Regions from separate parts of the Homo sapiens genome. Here region 2 is linked to region 1. The links are contacts of gene promoters, found by promoter capture Hi-C in human tissues and cell types (Jung and others, 2019). All regions are on one chromosome and are shown on one strand. Each heading gives the region's core, a stretch centred on a gene start or on the middle of the fragment in contact. The rest is flanking DNA. Distances are from core to core; before and after follow the strand shown.

Region 1 (4,037 bases), core at 898-3,397:
CCCTGGTGATCAATAGCCAACTCCCCTCCCTCCCAAATCGCAGTGGCAGCGCACGGCCAGGCCCGAGGTTTTAGCTCAGCTCAGGTTGACTCTGATTCCAAACTCCAACCATCGTTAATTTCAGAAGCCCTCTCGTAACAAGCTTCCCTCCCGAAAGGTGCCAAACACCACCAAAAGCCCCACGTGTGTGCGCCCACCCAAAATGAAGGGGGAAGGGGAGGTCAGCGTAGGACCAGGGGAGGGGTCAGAACCAGGAGCTCGCCCCTCCTCTCCGGAGGAAGCAGGCGGGCTGAGGGTTAACCCTTTTGTTCCAGGTGGGCCAGGCCACGAAGCCTTCACGCTCCCCTCAACCCCCACCCCACCCCGCCCCCAACCAAGGCACAAAGAGAGTCCCTCCAGGCGCCTGGGACCTCGGGTGCGCGCTGCGCTGACCACCCGGCGCCCCGAAAACGCCCAGCCATCCCCTCCGTCAAGCCGATCCTTTTAATTTGCCCTGGAAAAATGTTAAACGGGGAATTCTATTGACGTATTATAAACTTGGGAAATGTATTACATTCAGTCTCCGACAAAAAGGCGGGGATACGGAAGCCAAAAAGTGGCGACCGTCTTCTCGGGAAACCCCGGGTATCAGAGATGGTCTCTGAGAGTCCTCCGGGGTTGCCGCGCACACCCGTCTGCTGCAGGGAAATTAGAAAGCAGGCGGGGAGCGGAGCGACGAACAAGGCCGGAGAGGAGGCTACAAATCCCCCCTCCCCCCACGCGCACGCTAAAAACTTATCAGGCGACAATTTGGCGGGCCGGGATGGAGACGAGATAGTGGAAAACCGCCTCGCTCCTAAAACCTCCGCGGTGAAGTGATGAAGTGGGAACAGAGTTGGCCCCGCCGTTCCTGGCGCGGCTGGGGTCCCGAACTCCCCTCGATCTGGGAAACGCTGGCCGCGGAAGCGTGGGCCAGGTCAGCCGCGGGAGTTCGCTCTGGCCCCCCACCTCTCCCCTTTCACACCCAAGCGCAAATGTGGAAAGCCGAGCGCTCCAGAAAAGCCACGCAAAACGGGAGGCCGGTGCACCCCAGTGGGGCTGCCGCGCGCCCGCCACCCCGGCCACTGGGGGCTCGCACCCTCGGGCTTGCCGCGGTTATTTTTAGGAAGTCGGAAATCAAAGATGGCTGGAGGTCAGGCCCCGAAAGGTTAGGGCGAAGATCGGCAGGCGGCGCAGCCCGGGCAGAAAAGGCGAAATCCAGAAAAGAAAAAAATTTTAAAGGGAAACATTGAGCCCTCCTCCCCCACCTCTCTGGGCCCTCCAATCCCCTGCGCAGCGCGGGTGGCCCGCACCCCAGCTCCTGAGGGTGGGGAGAGGTCGCGCCCCCTCCCCCCACTTGGCCCGGGAGGGGCGCGTGCAACAGATCGTCCTCCTCCGGGGGGTCTTCCAGGGGTGCGCCCCTCCTCCAGCCTCCAAGAAAAGCCCCAAGGGGCTGGTGGAGAGGGTGGGGATCCCCCGGGGTTCTTTCTTTTGAGAGCGACGCGAGGGAGGGGGACCTAAGTTACAAGGGGGGGGGGTAACACCAGTGAGGGGAGTGGAACCAATTAAGTGAGGGGCAGAGGACAAGGAGAAGGGAACCTTTCGGGAGCGAGAACAGAGGAGCGAGTGGGGGTCAATTTTACAATTAGGGGAGAAAGCTGGGGGTGAAACTTACACAAGAGGGGAGAAGAGGAAAAAAGTGTGAAATGTGCAAAAGGCGGGGTGGTGGGGAGAGGAGGAGACCTCTCCTCCCGGGCACTGAGCCCCCAAATCTCGGCTCCTGAATTTGCGCTGGACGCCGCCCGCTCCCCGAAGCCTGCGCCCTCGAGGATCCCGCGTACGTCCGGGAAGCTCCCCTCCCCGGGCGGGCGCCCCAGCCCCACTCACCCAGCTCCCCCGCCGCGGGCGCCGCTGGGGCCGCATCTGCAAACTCCGGGGTCTGCTGCTGCGGCTGCTGCTCGCCCTGGTCCTCCTCCGAGTTGATGTGCTGGGGTTTCGCCTGCTTGCGCCTCGACATGGTGCGAGCATCGGGGCGCCGGGAGAGCCGCAGTTATTTGCCCTCTCCGCCACAAATTCCTGGAGTTGGGAAATTTACCCCCCTTCGGCCGGAACGCGCATGTCCCAGTAATTATTATTATCAATAATGCATTGCGATTTATCATGAGCCCTGACAGCTGATTGGCCTGGGTCCAAGACCTCAGAGATCATTTAAATAAGCCCTCATTGATCAGGGAGGGGTGAGGCATTCTGGGCTTTGTAGTCCGGGCCTACTTGTGACAAAGGCGTGTTCATCAGGGGAGCGCAGCTAATTAGCATCCGGGCTCAGATTGGCTGGGGCGGGGACGAAATCAGAGGGGGACCCATCCTTGCTCCAGCTATCTCAGTCCTTGGAGAGGAAAAGAAAATGGGGAGAAATGCGTACTCATTAAAAAGTAGGAGCTTACGTAGAAGTTTTGGAACGGCTTTATTTGGTAGTTACTTGCTCCAAAGATTACTTGGTAAGGTTGATGTCCACCAGCCGAGAAGGGAGATCTCTTCACAGTGGAATATTTTGGCTCAGTTTTCACATCTACACGCACACACATTCCCCCAAACCTGAGATGTGACCCGTGTCCCCTCCCATCTTTTTGATTAAAAATGTTTAAGTTGAGTCTCGAGATAACTGAAGAATGATGAATGGTGGTGTTTTCAGCCCTCCCACCCATCTCAACTCTTAAAGTGAGCTCGGAACTTCCAAAATTTCAGATACCCCACCACCACCATGACTTACCTCCTTTAAAAGCTGATTAATAGCCTCCAGGATTCCTGTTCACAAAGACTGGTTTGTGGTTACAATGCAAACCTTGATTTTTTTTTAACTTCAAAATGACTGGCTACTAAATATAGAAATGGCAAATGATAAGCAAGCATAGTCAGAGATAATATCAAAACAGCAAGCAATTGCATTTTTTTCCCCAGGAGCCATAAATGCCTGATAACATCATATTTTATTACTGAGACAATGCTCTTGCATCTCCCATGGAATGGCAATGGGGCACTGTCACAGTATCTGGTTGTTACTAATCACTATTGGAATTTTTTTGTGCAATACACACATTATTACAGAAAAGGTGTATCGTTCAAAGTGATTGTATCATTGACACATGATGCCTGGAATTTTTTAAAGTGGGGCTTGTGTGTGTGTATATGATATATTACATGTATACACATTTATACCGTAAATTCATGTATACTTAATTTGGCTAACTGCTTTACACAATGTACATGCTCAATAAATGTTAAATGAATGATGAAATCATCAACCTGCTAAGTCTTTGATTGGTCTTTCCATAACTGCTCTGGGCATGCGTCTTTGTTTGGCATTTACTTCATTGTAAGGGACTGTGCAGATATAAACCCTCCCTCCACATTTGTGCATTGCATTCTCTTGATTAGTTATTCATCACGTTCCCAGCTTGTAAACTCATCAGGAATACAAGCAAAATGGAATGCTGGGCTCATCAATGTGTTCACCTGGGTATTTGGACAACCCAAGGCAGAAAATAAATCAGCTTGATCATCTTTTTTATATTCGTGGCCATCAGTAAAAACTTGTTGAAGGAAGATTAACCTTCAATTTTTGAGTCTCTGAAAAAGTCTTGCCTTATTTTATGTATAATATTTAAAGCAAGTAAGACAGAATTATAGCCAACAGCCAGATTGAAAAGGTAAGAATTTGGTTTAATAATACATAGAAGCAGTTTAGAATTCTGATACTGAGTAAAAAGGCCAATTAGCACCTGCCTTGCTGACTAATCTACTAATATTCTCAACACCTTTTCTGTGTAAGATAGTGTGGCAGGAGATCTAACTTACAAATCTAAACGAATGTGCAGTGGGTTTATGGCTCAAAAAATACTATTGGGTTAAGGAAAATTTCATTTATATAGTTGTTTATATTTATTTTAGTAGATGATAGTTGTAACATGTTAGCCTTACTACGAGACAAAATTGTGCCGCTTGACTCTCCAAGTGATAGT
Region 2 (4,037 bases), core at 405-2,904, 46 kb after region 1:
TAATCCCAGCACTTTGGGAGGCCCAGGCAGGCGGATCACTTGAGGTCAGGAGTTTGATACCAGCCTGGCCAACATGGTGAAACCCCGTCTCTACTAAAGACACAAAAAGTAGCTGGGTGTGGTAGCGCGTGCCTGTAATCCCAGCTACTTGGGAGGCTGAGAGAGGAGAATCGCTTGAACCTGGGAGGTGGAGGTTGCAGTGATCCAAGATCGCATCACAGCACTCCAGCCTGGGTGACAGAGAAAGACTGTCTCAAAAACAATAAAGGCCCATCATTTGGGAATTGGTTAAATAGAATAAAGGACATTTACAGCGTAACACTATACAGTCATAGAAAAGAGAGATCAAAGGGCTGGGCGTGGTGGCTCGTGCCTGTAATCCCAGCACTTTGGGACGCTGAGGTGGGAGGATCACCTGAGGTCAGGAGTTTGAGACCAGCCTGGCCAACATGGTGAAACCCTGTCTCTACTAAAAACACAAAAATTAGCCGGGGGTGGTGGCACACATCTGTAATCCCAGCTACTCAGGAGGCTGACTCAGGAGAATCACTTAAACCTGGGAGATGGAGGTTGCAGTGAGCCGAGATCGCGCCACTGCACTCCAGCCTGGGTGACAGAGCGATACTCTTGTTTCAAAAAAAAAAAAAAAAAAAAAACAAGATCAAGCTCTATATGTGTTGAGATGGAACAATGGCCAAGAGCAATGGTTCATGCAAGGACAAAGGGGCTGAGCCATCTGGATGATATGTTGACAATTGTGTAGAAAGGGAGCGGGGAGTGGAATACATATTTATATTTGGTTGTATATGCACAATGTAGCTCTGAGTATCATATTATACAACATAAAGGAGTAGTGGTTGACTATGAGAAGGGGAACAAATGGGTGGCTGTGGGACAGTGGTTAAGAGACTTTTCACCATTTGTTAAACTTGGTGATTATTTGAAGCACTTGGATGCATTACCTATTCAAAATCTTACTAAAACAAGAACAAAACAAACAAACAGAAGCTTCTAGGATTCTTTTATTTCTCTGAGAATCCTTACTCCTGGGAACTACATCTGGAGAACTCATTGTGAGCCCAATAACACAGGGGCTTGGTTTCCCATGAAAAGAAGGCTGCCTTTCAAGGAAGGAGAGGGACATTCTCCATCCTGAGGGGACACCCCCCACACACCCCATGCTTCCTTTATTGCCATTTCGTCCTTTGCTGCTCTCATTTGATGTGGCTCGGCTTTTTTTTTTTTCTTAAAGTTCCCACCAGTTCTCTTTAAAGACAGCACCAAAACTAAAACTAAAAACCAATTTAATTTTACTTTTAAAGCACTCCCCCTTTTTTTTTAATTTTTACAATAATGAAGATCTTATTCTAGGATGAAAATAATGAATAGGAAAGAGCTGTTTATTCTTCCTTCTTCCCACCCCTGAATATTGAAGTAAAACTAAATAACAATGAAAGTGACTAGGAACAGCAGACAAGGGGAAATATGTCAGAATGAGAACATCTCATGTCATCTCCAGGGCTGGGGGAGAAACATCTTTCCTGGTACAAGGTCCCGGTACCGAAGAAATACAATTTTTCAAAAAGTTCTGTAAGTGATACATGCTTGTTACAAAAAATCTCTACCATTTTCAAAGCTTAGAAGGCAGAAACTCCTTGTTAGTTGGTAATTTCTTTATCTCTCTCATGCTTTCCTGATATCTGAATTACGCTTGAGAAAAAGAGGAAAATAAAACAAGACAGAAAATAATGCTTCCTTAGGTAAATACAATCGGCTAAGAAAGGCTTCCAAGAAGAAGCATAATTCACTGAGTCCCAGCTTATTGAGAGAATCCCCAAACAAAGGACTTTTGTGAAGGGATCAGTCTCAGCCACCATAACTTAGCATACAATAGGATGGCTTAATAAAAGAGGTTTCCAAAGGCCAAGATGGTTATCAAAGATCTCCCAAGGAGAGAGGGAGAAGAAGAGACAGAGAGAAAAAGAGAGAGAGAAAGAGGGAAGGAATAACCTTCTGGAATGTTCCCAACTATCTTTCCAGTTAGCATTCATGAATACGTGAAAGGTTTCATATCACTTGGAGTCCCACCCATTTTTCAAAATAGGAAGCTTCCGCTATTTTCTTCTGGATCCGTTATTGGGTCAAGAGAAGTCTCTGCCTCTTGTCCAGGACATTTGGATATTTCTTATTTGTTATTTATTTATGAGATAGGGTCTCACTGTGTCGCCCAGGCTGGAGTGTAGTGGCACAACCATGGCTCACTGCAGCCTCGACCTCCCAGGTTCAAGTGATTCTCCCGTCCCAGCCTCCTGAGTAGCTAGGACGACAGGCACCATTGCACTTGGCTAATTTTAAAATATTTTTTAGAGATAGGGTCTTGCTATGTTGCCCAGCCTGCTCTCAAACTCCTGGCCTCAAGTGATCCTCCCCCACCTTGGCTTCCCAAAGTGCTCGGATTGCAGGTGTAAGCCACCCACTGCACCTGGCCTAGATTTGGAAGTTTATATAATTACTTTTCAATGAATGTTTTAATGAATGTTGCAATGAATGTCTCCTTGTTTACCTTAGATGACTGGGTGAAATAAACAACTCCTCAAATTTTGTTATGTTACTCTGCCATATTATATCACGTATGACATATATTGTTATATTATATTACATATGTATGTCTATACATATGTTTCTGTGTATGTAGATGTTTATACATCCAGCATATTAAATCCATCAAGCTTTTCGACAAAGGTGAAAGGTTGTAGACTTCACAAACTTAAATAATGTAGGTTGTAGAGTCAGAGCAACTTCTGGTTGTCCCAGTGAACTTGGATAAGTGACTTAACCTGGCTGGGCCTCCATGTCCTCCTGGCAAGTAGGGGTGGTAACCGCCCATATGGAGGGGGTTCCACAAGATAAATTTGGAAAGACATAGGCAAGTGGCACAAAGCAACGGTAGCTGTGGTTGTCCCCTCCGGACAGTGGTTATTAAAAAGACTTATAGGTTGGGCGCGGTGGCTCCTGCCTATAATCCCAGCACTTTGGGAGGCCAAAGCAGGCAGATCACTTGAGGTCAGGAGATCCAGATCAGCCCAGCCAACATGGTGAAACCCCGTCTCTACTAGAAATACAAAAATTACTGAGTATGGTGGCGCAAGCCTGTAGTCCCAACCTACTCAGGAGGCTGAGGCATGAGAATCACTTGAACCTGGGAGGCAGAGGTTGCAGTGGGCCAAGATGGCGCCACTGTACTCCACCCTGGCAACAGAGTGAGACCTTGTTTCAAAAAAAAAAAAAAAAAAAAAAAAGAAGATGTATGTTCCCGGCTTTAGGAGACTACCTTGGGGGCTGTGCAAACACAGGCTACTCTATTCAAATTCTGGATTTCTTTAAAAAACAAAACCACAAACACCAAAATACTCTGATAGTGCTTCAAAACCTCAAACTGGCCAGTGTGTGGCTCATGCCTGTAATCTAGCACTCGTGTGTGGCTCATGCCTGTAATCTAGCACTCTGGGAGGCTGAGGCAGGTGGATTGCTTGAGCCCAGAAGTTTGAGACCAGCCTGGGCCACATGGTGAAACCCCATCTCTACAAAAATGATAAAAGTTAGCCAGGCGTGGTGACTGTGGGCCTGTAGTCCCAGCTACTCAGGAGGCTGAGGTGGATCACCAGAGCCCAGGAGGTCAAGGCTGCAGTAAGCCGAGATCATGAGATCATGCCACTGCACACCAGCTTGGGTGACAGAATGAGACCCTGTCTCAAAAAAAAAAAAAAAAAAAAGCCCTGAAATTCAGTGGTCTCAAAATTTAGAGTATATTCAGCTATTCAGCAAAAAAGAGAAAAGAATAAAATTCTTACTTGAGGCCGGGCATGGTGGCTCACGCCTGTAATCCCAACACTTTGGGAGGCCGAGGTAGGTGGATCACTTGAGGTCAGGAATTCGAGACTAGCCTGACCAACATTGTAAAACCCCATATCTACTAAAACTACAAACTTAGCCAGGAATGGTGGCACATGCCTGTAATCCCAGCTACTTGGGAGGCT

The links. Contacts are between HindIII fragments. The study calls those that stand out against the background at their distance.
Region 2: a fragment that was not itself captured here is called in contact with the fragment with the promoter of SALL4 in region 1 in 4 of the 25 tissues and cell types used here (bladder, liver, mesendoderm cells and 1 more).

Annotation. Positions count from the first base shown.
Region 1 is chr20:51,800,374-51,804,410 of GRCh38, forward strand. SALL4 (spalt like transcription factor 4) reads right to left here and starts at 2,148. Exons shown (of 4, transcript NM_020436.5): 1 at 1,906-2,148. The coding sequence starts at 2,035. RefSeq lists enhancers at 2-51, 567-1,209, 1,853-2,494. The HindIII fragment of the contact is 8,319 bases long and covers 1-4,037 here.
Region 2 is chr20:51,846,692-51,850,728 of GRCh38, forward strand. All of the region lies in intron 1 of LINC01429 (long intergenic non-protein coding RNA 1429), which reads right to left. Among named protein-coding and RNA genes, the nearest start is that of LINC01429, 14 kb to the right of the region's middle. RefSeq lists an enhancer at 1-288. The HindIII fragment of the contact is 4,103 bases long and covers 1-3,706 here.